Regions from separate parts of the Homo sapiens genome. Here all the other regions are linked to region 3. The links are contacts of gene promoters, found by promoter capture Hi-C in blood cells and fetal thymus (Javierre and others, 2016). All regions are on one chromosome and are shown on one strand. The core of a region is centred on a gene start or on the middle of the fragment in contact, and the rest is flanking DNA. Distances in the headings are between cores, read along the strand shown. Region 1 overlaps TIGD3 (tigger transposable element derived 3). Region 2 overlaps DPF2 (double PHD fingers 2). Region 3 holds the start of LTBP3 (latent transforming growth factor beta binding protein 3).

Region 1 (4,139 bases), core at 647-3,146, 200 kb before region 3:
TGGGACGTGACGGGGCCCATGCTGCTCCACAAAGCCAAGGAGCTGGCCGATATCATGGGCCAGGACTTCGTGCCCAGCATCGGCTGGCTGGTCCGCTGGAAACGCCGAAACAACGTCGGCTTTGGGGCCCGCCATGTTCTTGCGCCTTCATTCCCCCCTGAGCCACCTCCCCCGGGGCTCACATCCCAGGCTCAGCTGCCTCTTTCCCTAAAAGACTTCTCTCCAGAGGACGTGTTTGGCTGTGCTGAATTGCCCTTGCTGTATCGGGCAGTGCCCGGCAGCTTTGGTGCATGTGATCAAGTACAGGTGCTGCTGTGTGCCAACAGCAGGGGCACCGAGAAGCGGCGGGTACTGCTGGGTGGGCTCCAGGCTGCCCCGAGATGCTTCTTTGGGATCCGCAGTGAGGCTCTGCCTGCCTCCTACCACCCGGACCTGGGCATCCCCTGGTTAGAGTGGTTGGCACAGTTTGACCGGGACATGGGACAGCAGGGCCGACAGGTGGCTTTGCTGCTGGCTGCCCGAGTGGTGGAGGAGCTGGCAGGCCTGCCTGGGCTCTACCACGTGAAGCTCTTGCCTCTGGCCGCCTCTAGCACCACGCCTCCCCTGCCCAGCTCAGTGGTCCGGGCCTTTAAGGCCCATTACCGACACCGGCTGTTGGGCAAACTGGCTGCCATCCAAAGCGAGAGGGATGGCACCTCGCTGGCCGAGGCCGGGGCAGGCATCACCGTGCTGGACGCCCTGCACGTGGCGTCTGCCGCCTGGGCCAAGGTGCCTCCTCAGCTCATTTTCAGCAGCTTCATTCAAGAAGGGCTGGCTCCCGGCAAAACGCCCCCGTCCTCGCACAAAACCTCTGAGATGCCACCAGTCCCCGGCGGGCTGAGCCTGGAGGAGTTTTCCCGCTTTGTGGACCTGGAGGGTGAGGAGCCAAGGTCTGGAGTATGTAAGGAGGAGATAGGCACTGAAGACGAGAAGGGGGACAGAGAGGGTGCCTTTGAGCCCCTGCCCACCAAAGCTGATGCCCTCCGGGCCCTGGGCACCTTGAGGAGGTGGTTTGAATGCAACAGCACTTCTCCTGAGCTATTCGAAAAATTCTACGACTGTGAGGAGGAGGTGGAGCGGCTTTGCTGCCTATGAAGGCGCCTTCACTGCTTGCCAGAGCCCCTTCCTCTCTTGTTTCCCATGGAAACGGCCTCTTCAGAAGGCAGATCGGGCTGTCTCTTTCCTGTGGAAATAGAACTGTCGTAAAGGTGTAGAAGGGAGAGAAGTTGGGACACCAAGTCTGAGCTTGGAGTGGCAGTCGTCCAAACCCCAGGAAGAGAGCTCTAAAGATGGGGCTTCGGGGGTAGGAATCCAGGATGCTTAGTTTCTAGACCCTGCTTGAAAGTTCTAGAGCCTTTGAAAGGGAGTTAGTCTAGAGGCAGCCACTTAGAAAGGTGGAATTTGGGCTTTTTGGACAGACTGCTTCCTTGAACTTTGTGTTAAAAACAGTTCTGCTTCTGAAAATAAAGTTTTTAATCAGAAAAGAGGCCAGGGTGTTATTTTCATGGGAGAAGGGTAAACATTTTCCATTCAGATTTGGAAAATTAATTGCTGATGGTCACTGCGGTGCAGCTGTCTGTCCATGACCAGTAGGGATCCTCCTTTTCCAGATATTCAGCAGCAAGGACTCTCAGGGTGTGGGCACTGCTTGTGGGCTACCCTCCTGAGAGGGAAGCTCCAGGACAGACAGATCCCAGCTACTGCCCCAGATAAGCTGCAGCTCCAATAGTTTCGCTCTCAGATTGTGTGTGTTTGGGGTTGGGCAGGCTACGGACATGTCAGGGAAACAGAAAGGAGCCGGAATTGGAATGGAATAGTCATTCATTCTTTCTTTTTTTTTTTTCATTTGCTTATTTCACAACATCACTTCAGCAAGACCTCCTATGTGAACAAGGTTGCAAAGATGATGTCTCTTCTGGACAGAACCTTGCAGCCAATGACAGTGGAGTGTGATTAAGGCTGTGATAACGGCTGTGCAAAGTGCCTGGCCCCATAGAGCTAGGGAGACTCCAGGGGGAGGTGAGCTTTGAGCTGCAGTTTGAAGGGCGTCCCAGGCCAAGGGACAGCGTGTGCAGAGTCTGATTGGAGTGAAGGAGCACAGTGTGCTGGGGGCGGGGGCAGGCAGTTCTGCCAGAGCATAGCATACTTGCGGAGGTAGGGGCAGAGTACAAGGAGAGACCTGGAGAGTAGGAAGGGCCTTTAGCCAACCAGGCTTAGGGGTAGGACACCATCAGAGGGTTTTAGGTAGGCAGGAACAAGTCATTCTTGGGGTTCTAGAATAACGGAGTCTGTGTAGGGTGTGTCAAAGATGTGAAACCTAGAGGCAGAGAGCCTCTGACTGATCCAGGTGAGAGAAGGTGAAGCGTGAGCCAGATCCTGGGAGTAGGATGTAAAGAAAATGGTTTACCAGCAGGGCGCGGTGGCTCACGCCTGTAATCCCAGCACTTTGGGAGGCCGAGGTGGGTGGATGACCTGAGGTCAAGAGTTTATAAGACCTGCCTGGCCAACATGGTGAAACCCCATTTCTACTAAAAATATAAAAACTAGCCGGGCGTGGTGGCACATGCCTGTAATTCCAGCTTCTCAGGAGGCTGAGGCAGGAGAATCGCTTGAACCCGGGAGGTGGAGGTTGCAGTGAGCCAGGATGGTGCCACTGCACTCCAGCTTGGGCAACAAGAGTGAAACTCACTCAAAAAAAAAAAAAAAAGAAAAGAAAAGAAAATGGTTTTACCTGGAAAGGATATGGGCTTTGGACGCAGATAGACTCTAGCTGGTAAAAATACAAGCTGCAGGCCGGGCACAGTGGCTCATGCCTGTAATCCCAGCACTTTGGGAGGCCGAGGCTGGTGGATCACTTTAGGTCAGGAGTTCAAGAGCAGCCTGGCCAACATGATGAAACTCTGTCTCTACTAAAAATACAAAAATTAACCAGGCGTGGTGGCACACACCTGTAATCCCAGCTACTTGGAAGACTGAGGCAGTAGAATCGCTTGAACCCACGAGGCGGAGGTTGCAGTGAGCGGAGATCGCACCACTGCACTCCAGCCTGGGTGACAGAATGAGACTCCGTCTCAAAAATAAAAAAATAAAATAAAAATACTGTCTGGGCACGGTGGCTCACGCCTGTAATCCCAGCATTTTGAGAGGCCGAGGCGGGTGGATCACCTGAGGTCAGGAGTTCAAGACCAGCCTGGCCAACATAGTGAAACCCCGTCTCTATCAAAAATACAAAAACTAGCCAGGTGTGGTGGCGAGCGCCTGTAGTCCCAGCTACTCAGGAGGCTAAGGCAGGAGAATCGCTTGAACTGGGAGGTGGAGGTTGCACTGAGCCAAGATAGCGCCACTGCACTCCAGCCTGGGCGACAGAGCGAGACTCCCTCTTGAAAAAGGAATAAATAAAATAAAAATACGGGCTCCAGGCCAAAATCCTAAGGGTGACCTTTCAGGCTTCACCATTGGCAGTCACAAGACTTTTGCCTGGCAGTCCTCATGGAGGGAAGCTGCTCTCTCACCCCAGCTTGGTGCATCGCCTGTGCATTGCAGGTTTCCGGAGAGAGTTGCAGTCAAGGACTCCAGGCCCCCAGACTGCCCTGTTCCTAAGCTCACCTGCATTCCTAGCTGGGCACCTCCATTTGGAGACCTGGGCTGAGGCAGTTTCCAACAGCCTTTACCAAGACCTCCTTACTGGGAGCAATGACTGAGATCCTTTCTCCGCTTCGACTCAATACCTCTCATTCCATCCTTTCTCCGCTTTGACGCAGTACCTCTCATTCTATCCTTTCTCCGCTTTGACTCAGTACTTCTCATTTCAGCCCTTCTCCCCTGCCTCCCTACAGCCCACTTCAGGTCAGGTCTGTAAAAAGGCAGGAGCTTTTATTCTTTTTATTCTGAAACTCCTTGACGATGAGACTGTTCCTGTCTGACCCTTGTCCCGTGCTGCTCTGTAAAATGGAACGCTGGGGAGCTGGGGCCTGTTTTTGCCCCTTGCTTGTAGGTTTTAGTGAATGAAAAGAAGCTTTTGTGTTACTTTCAGCTTGCTTCGTTGTCCTAATTGACCAACTCCACACCTGGCAGCTCGAACTAACAACTCCCTTTCAAAC
Region 2 (4,527 bases), core at 2,028-4,527, 220 kb before region 3:
CTGGCCAAGGTGGTGAAACCCGTCTCTAGTAAAAATACAAAAATTAGCTGGGCATGGTGGCGTGCACCTGTAGTCCCAGCTACTCAGGAGGCTGAGGCAGAAGAATCGCTTGAACCCAGGAGAGATCACACCACTGCACTCCAGCCCAGGCGACAGAGCGAGACTCCGTCTCAAAAAAAGAGAGAAAGTCTTTAAGCGTTCTTACTAGGAAAGTAAAATAATAGTATAGCTGTAGCTGCTGATTGGTTTTGAAACTTTCTAGGCAAAATCTAGAGGCAGGGCGCGGTGGCTTACACCTGTAATCCCAGAACTTTGGAAGGCCGAGGTGGGCGGATCATGAGGTCAGGAGTTCGAGACCAGCTTGGCCAACATGGTGAAACCCTGTCTCTACTAAGAATACAAAAATTAGCTGGGCGTGGTGGCGCATGCCACTCGGGAGCCTGAGGCAAGAGAATCGTTGGAACCCGGGAGGCAGAAGCTGCAGTAGGCAGAAGCTGCAGTGAGCCGAGATTGCACCACTGCATTCTAACCTGGGCGGCAAAGCAAGACTCTATCTCAAAAAAAAAAAAAAAAAAAAAAATATATATATATATATATATATATATATATAGAGAGAGAGAGAGAGAGAGAGAGAGAGAGAGAGAGAGAGAGAACAATGTTAATGTTAACTTGACATTTCTTGGTATCGGAGCCTTAAGTTTTTGTTATTGCTTTTTTTTGTTTTAAGAGACAGAGCCTCCCTCTGTCCCCCAGGCTGAAGTGCAGTGGTATAACCTTGGTTTACTGCACCCTCAACTTCCTAGGCTCAAATGATTCCCCTACCTCATCCGCCCCAGGGGCTACGTGGAACCACAGGCATGCATCACTAAGCCTAGCTGATGGTTTTTTTGTTTGTTTGTTTTGTTTTTTTTAATTTTATTTTTTTTGAGACAGAGTTTCGCTCTTGTTGCCCAGGCTGGAGTGCAATGGCGCAATCTCGGCTCACCGCAACCTCCGCCTCCCAGGTTCAAGCAATTCTTCTGCCTCAGCCTCCCCCGTAGCTGGGATTATGGTCATGTACCACCACGCCCGGCTAATTTTGTATTTTTAGTAGAGACAGGGTTTCTCCATGTTGAGGCTGGTCTCGAACTCCTGACCTCAGGTGATCCGTCCACCTCAGTCTCCCAAAGTGCTGGGATTACAGGCGTGAGCCACTGCGCCAGGCCTTTTTTATTTTTATTTTTTAACGTTTTGTAGAGATGGGATCTCACTATGTTGCCCAAGCTGGTCTCTAACTCTTGGTCTCAAGAGATCCACCAGCCTTGGCCTCCCAAAGTGCTGGGATTATAAGCATGAGCTACTGTGCCCGGCCTCCCTTAAGTTCTTAAGAGCTCACTGTCATGCTGTCTTGTTCTCTCTTCATGAGATTCTCCCCCCACACTTCAGTGTTTCCTTCCCAGCCCTTTTACCCCCAAGACTGTTTGCCTGCCTTATGTAGCTCACAAGAGCCCTGACAGAACATCTCTCATTCATTCCCCGCAAAACTGTTTCCAGCCTCCTTGCTCTGACTTTGCAGCACTCGCCAGCCTGGCCCTGCCTTCCATTTGACTTCCAGTGTCCGTATCAATTCCCATCAGCAGAAACAAAGGAGCTGCCGCACTCAACCTTGTTTATCCAATTTTATTCTGTGTGGTGAAGACGTGGCTGCCTCCTAAAGGCGAGCCCACAGAGGCAAGGCTGCCTTCTCCATTCTGCTCTCCAACGTGAGATTCGTGCCTACCTCAGATTACAGTCATTACAGCTCATTGAATCACGCCAGGCTATATTTGTGGCATTGCCGTCTCTGTGTGTCGTATGTGTCTTTTTTACTTGCTGGGCACATGCTAAGTTATGCAGTGGTCTATTGTGGCTGCTCACTGAAGGACCCTGTCACATTCTAGAGCAGGGTTTGTTGGTGTAGCCCGAGTTACGGACAGAAACCACAGAGACTTAATCTGTTTGCTGTCTCATCCCCAGGCTGTTTCTTGTAAAATCCTGATATGTCAAAGCTCATTTGGTCCAACCTCCTCAATCTATAGAAGAGTAACCAAGGTCCACCTGGGCTGACTAAGTGTCCATGTTCGTGTGACTTGCAGGCAAGCCAGGTCTTTTTACTCTCAAGTCAAGTCTGACTGTATCTCAGACATCGTCATGAGTATTAGGGATACTATGAGAAATAAATCAATTCTGCCCTTGGTTTAAGATTGATTGACGCCAGGTACTGTGACACATGCCTCTATTCCCAGATACTTGGGAGGCTAAGGCAGGAGGATCACTTGAGCCAGGAGTTTGTGTCCAGCTTGGGCAACATAGTGAGACCTTGTCTCTTAAAAAAAAAAAAAAACAAGATTGATTGAATATAAGATCGAGTTTGTTAACCTCCATTACCAAAGTCCTTGTTAAACCCTGCAAGATGAGAACAAGATAGGTTCTATATACACGCTTCTTAGAACCAGATAACTCCTGGCACTGTGCAGTTTTCCAGTTTTCCACTTAAAGATTTACCCTTGATTCAGATTTCAAATTGAGTCTTTTGAGACCAAGAAGATTTTTTCCTATATAATTTTATTTTGTGAGAATGGAGAAGAACCCTAAGATGGGCCTTAGAGCAAACAAGTTTCTTATGAGTGATGGTGCTCAATAAAAGCTTCAAGGAACTTCAGGTACTTGTAGACATCTTCCATAAATGTAAAATTAATTAGTTGATTAAAAACCTAGTTCAAAATTCAAAAGATATAAAAAGGCATATGGAAGGAAGTGGCCTAGTCACCCACTTTTTCTCCCCGCTGACCTGCAGTTTCTTTTCCATTTTGTTACATAAATGATAGTTTTATTTGACGCTTCTCAGCAGTGTACCTTGCTTTGCTTTTTGTCCCTAGTTAACTTGAAATTGTTTAATATCAGTATGTGAAGAGCTTCCTTCTTATGGCTAAGTAGAATTTCATTGTATGGATTTACCATAGTTTGCTAAATACATTTTAATAAGTCCCCTAGACTTTGAACTCTTTCCCTCTGGAGCAGACCTTGGGGCAAGGATGTGGGAGCATGTAGTTTATTTGGGAGGTGATTCTAGGAAAGAGGGAATAAGGAGGAACTTAGGAGGGACTATCATCTGCTTCTTAGCCTCATAAGGGTTAAGAGAAATAGCATCTTAACTAGCACAGGGGTGGGCTTGTGAGACACGTGGAGTGAACATTCTTTCACCTCTTTGGGGGTTAAACTTAAGTCTGATTAGACATATGATGAAATCATGTGTTCCTGATGGTAATTTATTTGTAAAGTAATTCCTCATGATGGCCTAGAAAAGGGGCTTCGTGTCCCATGAGGCAGAAGTGGAGGCAAATAGAACGGAAGAGACAGCCACCCAGTCCCTTGAGCCTTCTAGAGAAGCAGATGGCAGGGGAGAGGAATAGCTCAGCACCCTATGCCCCCCGCTCCAACATACACGCCTGATTTCTATCTTCCCTGCAGCCTTGGGGAGCAGTACTACAAAGATGCCATGGAGCAGTGCCACAATTACAATGCTCGCCTCTGTGCTGAGCGCAGCGTGCGCCTGCCTTTCTTGGACTCACAGACCGGAGTAGCCCAGAGCAATTGTTACATCTGGATGGAAAAGCGACACCGGGGTCCAGGTGAGGGTCCAGACTTGGGAGAAGGGGACTCAGGAGCATAAGGAGGAAGAAGCCTCCTCATCTTAGGTGATGAGACAGTTGATAGGGTTTTCCCTACTGCCTTCCACCTATGGATGAATATGGTCTTCCTGTGATTAGAAACCCAGGGAGGATGAAGCAGATGTTTGATACCAGCATCTTTGTTTTCTGCCCTGCTGAGGCCATTGTGTGTCTGGAGAACTATGTGTTAGCCAAGGCCCTGAAGCTTATATATCTATTTTTCTTTTCCACAGACTATTCCACCTAACCCCCTAGGCCCTCACTGTCAGAATTTCTCCCTTGCTCTAGAACTCAAAGGGGGGCCTACTTAATTAGAAAGTGTTTGGTATTACTTTCTAATACTGGGTTAGGGCCTGACTTCTATCTTTCTTCCTGCCACAGGATTGGCCTCCGGACAGCTGTACTCCTACCCTGCCCGGCGCTGGCGGAAAAAGCGGCGAGCCCATCCCCCTGAGGATCCACGACTTTCCTTCCCATCTATTAAGCCAGGTAAGGCACATACTTCCTGAGCAGAGGCGTGGCCTGCTGCATGGTGAGAGCCTGCTAATCACTGTGATATACCAGGCCCAGTACTAGATCCCAAATATACTCAAATGAATATGATGTGATTCTTTCCTTTAAGGACCTCAGTCTAGAAGGGGAGACAGGTAAACAGATAAGTTATGGTGCCAAGTGAACTAGGGTGTCTTAATTCCTGGGCGTGCAGAGAACAAAAGATAGTGACAGACCTTTGGTAAGCCCCAGCATTATGTGGACTCAGAGCAGTCTGCTTTCAGCCCTTTTGAGCCTTGCTTTATCCTGACCTTGCTTGCAGACACAGACCAGACCCTGAAGAAGG
Region 3 (4,030 bases), core at 173-2,672:
CCAAGCTGAACTGGGGAGGGTGTAGGGGCTTGGGGGAGGATGAGGGGGGCCCTGAGGGCCTCTGAGGCAGGATGTTAGGAGCTTATGGGGAGGCATTGGAAAAGGAGAGGCTGAGAACCCCGAACTAGTCCCTACCTTCAGGCCTGCACCCTACTTTTAGGCCTCAACACCCTCCCTACTCAGACCTTGCCAGTAGCCGGCTCCCATCCCCAGCCCTGACCTTAGCTCCTCCTCCCAGGGAATGCAGGTGTCTACTCTGGCAGGCCCTACTTTAGACATTTTGTAAAGACTTTTCTTGTTTCTTCCAGCAAGTCTGCTTCTTGCGGGAATATTTAGCCCTTCTCTGAGGCTTCCTGTCCCCGGCTCACATTCCTCAAAAACCCTGTGTGCTCCTGCTCAGAACTCAGCACCTTCTGGGAAGCCAGTGTCATCCAGGACCTCTGCATTTCCCCACCCCTTAGGCCCCAACCCTAACGCAAAGCTTCAAAGTCCAGGCCTCCATGCAGCCCTCCAACTCTGGCCCCCAGAGTTCCAGCCTCCCAAGTTCCCTGAGGCCCCTGGTCCCCCAGGCCCTCGGATCTCTGCCCTTTATACCCTCAGCCCCCAGTCTCTAAGGCCAAGACCCCACTAGCTCTCCCACCGGGCCTGGTGCCTGTCCTTCCCCTGCCCCCAGCCGTGCCCCCGGCCCTCACCCACGCGGAAGCCGGAGCCCGTGAGCGTGTCTGTGCTGTGGCCGTTCTCTCCGATGAGCGTCATGTTGGAGCCCTGCTGACAACTGTCCCGACACTGGCCCTTGAGACAGGTCCGCTTGCAGATCACCGGCGCAAAGACCACCTTGAAGCGCTCGCGGGCCAGCGCCCCGCCCCCGCCTGCGCCCCGCTCGCCGGCCGGCCCCCCCTCGACCCTGCCGCCCAGGCCCAGCAGCAGCAGCAGCAGCAGCAGCAGCAGCGCCAGCAGCCCCGCCGCCCCCGCCCCGCGCATCTCAGGGGCCAGGCCGCCAGCAGCCCCTCGGGGCCCGGGCATCCGGGGCCGCAGGACCCGGGGGAGGGGGGGCGCGCCCGGGCGGGGCGAGGGGCCCGCGCCCGAAGGGAGTAGAGGGCCGGGAGCCCCGGGAGAGGGTAGGGGGCAGCGAGGGAGGGCAGCGGGGGAAGCGGGCGGGAGGGGACCGCGGGGGCCCGGCGGGAGGCGCGGAGATGCAGACTGGACAGCGGGGAGCGCAGAAACTTCCCAGCCCCAGGACGAAGCCCAGACCAGGCCCCGAACTCAGGCAGGAGCGAGGAGGCCGGAGCAAGTTGAGGCGGAGAGGAGGAGCGAGGGAGAGGAAGGCCGGGCGGCCGGCCCGCTCCGCGCCTCCCCCTGGCCGGGCTCCTCTCCCGCGGCCGCGGGGAGGCAGGGAGCGCGCGGGGAGGGCTCAGGGAGAAGTGAGCAGTTGTTTTCCCTGGCTGGAGCGCGGCGCGGCGGCGGCGAGGGGGGCTGGGACGCTGGCCCCGGGCCAGGGACACAGTTTTTTTTTTTTTGTTGTTTAAAGCGTCGCCTCTGCCGCCTGGAGAAGCGAGGGTGTGCAGGCTGGCGGAGGCTGGGGGGTGGCGCGGGGACAGTCCCCACCCCAGATGCCCGCCCCCGCCGGAACCCGCGGCCGCGCTGGGCCCTTTCCAGAGGGCCCTCACCTGGGACCGTCTGGCCGGCCGCGGATTCCTCCGGGCGGGGCGGGGCGGGGAGGCCTGCGTAGAGCGAGATACCGAGGCTGAGGGAGAGAGGTGGCCCTGCCGGGTCACACTGACGATGGAGGCCGGGTGGAGCCGGAGCCCAGGCCTTCCAGCTCTTTCCCAGCCTCCCTTGCAAACGTGGGGGTCTCAGGGCCCCAAAGTAACTTCTCGTTAGTGCTGGTCCAATCCCCTCTGAGGAAAGGGCTAAAGGGTGGGGACAGCCTTTGGCCAGGGCTCACGGAGGTCCCAGGAGGAAGTCTGTGGGGTCCAGAAGAGGAGCAGAAAGAACAAAGCTAGAACCCAGCTTCCCTGCCAGCCCCCTCGGAATGGCTTCCTGGTGCCCACCCTGCCACCTCCCCCCTTTCCTTTCGTCTGGCCGTGCTGGCGGGGCTGGCTCTGGGCCTCAGACACTCTGGAATCGCCAAGGTCTGAGCTCAGGGCCTGGCCCCCTTCCCAGGCTAACAGCCGGGAGGACGGGGGCGCTGTCCGAGGGCCCAGGGGCTGGAGAGGGGCACAGCAGAGCCCCAGGGCAGGGGCTGGCAGCGGCTGGGGGTGGGGGTCTTCAGGTTGGCCATGGCTGGAGAGGAGCATAGTTCCAGACCAGGCTTGTCCGCTGGTCTGGAAGGAAAGGCTGCAACGTGCGGGGGCCCAGGCCTTACTGTGGGGCCTGCCAGGAGACCCCAGGGTTCCGTCTCTGACTCACAGAACTCAGCAGGAGGTGGGGACGGCTAGGGCACATCCAGGAAAAGCGCTGCCAAGTCAGGGCGGCACCAGACCCTCTCCCGGACAGCACCCGGGGCAGCAGTCTAATTGGGGAGAGGAGGTTCAGGGACTCACTTTCAGGCACACCTGTCCAAGGAACTCTGTTTTTACTTTGAGCGTAAGTTGATGTGGGTAGCTTTAGGGGGACGCTTAGTAAGTCCCCCTTACTAAGCGGTGCAGGGCTGGGAGGGACAATCACATGTCCCCAGGGATCCCTGCTGCCGGAATCCAGGATGGGGTGTGAGGGGCAAGCCCCTGCTTCTTGGGGCCCTGGTCCACACGGAGGCAGGGAATAATGCTAGGTGCCGACCACCTGCCAGGCACAGGGCTGAGCATTGTATACTCATTTTTTCCTAACACTCATCTGAACCTGTCCTGACTCTGCCTAGAGCTGGCTGTGGCTCACCATGGAGCACAGCACAGTCAAACAGTCCAGGGTTGGATTCTTACTGTCTCTAAGCCCCAGTTTCCTTGCTTGTGAGATGGGTATCTATTCACTCAACATCTATGTTCAACTACTGGTAATAAAAAACAAAAAATTAAAAAATAAATGTAAAAAATTCACTCAACAAACTGAGACTCCACCACATCCTAAGCTCTTGGCCACAAATAGAACCAGTCCTGCCTTCCTGGAGCTGCTGTACTAGGAGAGCTGGATATGTGCCAGATCAATTCACACAGAACTGTGGCTACAACAGAGGCTGGTACCGTGACAGAGAAGGGCAGGGAAGCAGGACAGGAGAGGGCTGGGACCTGGGAGACAAAGAGAGTCTTCCATCGGAAGCTGGAAGATGAGTAGGAGTGAGTCACACCTGTGGGCATCTGACCTCAGGGGAGGCTGCAGGGGGAGGCTATCCAGAGAACTGAGGGAAGGCCAGTGGAACAACAGGGTGTGGTGGAGAGGGAGAGCCGAAGGTGTAGTGGTGGTGGGAGGGGCCGGCCATGGTGAGGAATTTGCTTTTATTCTCATTGCAGTGGGACTGTGTCAGGGCAAGAGCGGGCACTCTGCCTTCATCCCAGGAGAGAGATCTCACTTGGCCCTGGGAGAGATGTATTTGGGAGGGGAGATGTAAAGACTGGGTGAAGTAGGGGTGCTGGAGAGGTAGGTGGCATGAATGGCCCCCAGATTCCTGGCCTGATCTCTGGATGGGCGAAGAAGAGGGGAGGCAGAGGAGCTGGAAACATGGGGCAGGGTCCACAGCTCTGTTCTGGTCCTGCTGAGTTTGAGATGCTTGTGAGTCATCCAAGTGGAGGTGCCCGAACCCGGGAGTCTGCAGCTCAGACAGGATGTCTGGCCTGGAGACAGAGGCTTGGGGTTATACAGGGGGCATCTACGACAGCGGGAAAGGGTGGGCTTACTATGGAGAGAAGAGAGCCCAGGGTGCCCAGGGAGATCACTGTTCCCGGGTCAGGGAGAGGAGGCGGAGTCAGGCAGGGAGAGGAGGCGGAGTCAGGCGAAAGACCAGAAAGAGCAGCTGGAGGGAGCAGAGAGGAAAACCAGGAGTGTGGTGGGGAAGAGCCAGGAGGACGGTGTGGCCCTCGGTGTCTAAAGCTGCTGCCAG

What was found. The method cuts DNA at HindIII sites, captures the fragments that hold promoters and counts their contacts. A CHiCAGO score of 5 or more calls a contact.
Region 1: a contact is called between a fragment that was not itself captured here and the fragment with the promoter of LTBP3 in region 3, in 5 of 17 cell types (endothelial precursors, monocytes, neutrophils and 2 more). The highest score is 10.4, in endothelial precursors.
Region 2: a fragment that was not itself captured here is called in contact with the fragment with the promoter of LTBP3 in region 3 in 1 of 17 cell types (monocytes); the score reaches 6.5 in monocytes.

The regions. Positions count from the first base shown.
Region 1 is chr11:65,356,091-65,360,229 of GRCh38, forward strand. It overlaps TIGD3 (tigger transposable element derived 3), which reads left to right. Exons shown (of 2, transcript NM_145719.3): 2 at 1-1,523. The coding sequence ends at 1,134. Among named protein-coding and RNA genes, the nearest start is that of TIGD3, 3.4 kb to the left of the region's middle. The HindIII fragment of the contact is 4,312 bases long and covers 1-4,052 here.
Region 2 is chr11:65,336,896-65,341,422 of GRCh38, forward strand. DPF2 (double PHD fingers 2) reads left to right here. Exons shown (of 11, transcript NM_006268.5): 2 at 3,490-3,650; 3 at 4,071-4,178; 4 at 4,504-4,527. Among named protein-coding and RNA genes, the nearest start is that of DPF2, 5.3 kb to the left of the region's middle. RefSeq lists an enhancer at 47-547. The HindIII fragment of the contact is 1,229 bases long and covers 2,664-3,892 here.
Region 3 is chr11:65,556,937-65,560,966 of GRCh38, forward strand. It overlaps LTBP3 (latent transforming growth factor beta binding protein 3), which reads right to left and starts at 1,423. Exons shown (of 28, transcript NM_001130144.3): 1 at 693-1,423. The coding sequence starts at 1,023. RefSeq lists silencers at 1,252-1,491, 1,542-1,701. The HindIII fragment of the contact is 7,741 bases long and covers 480-4,030 here.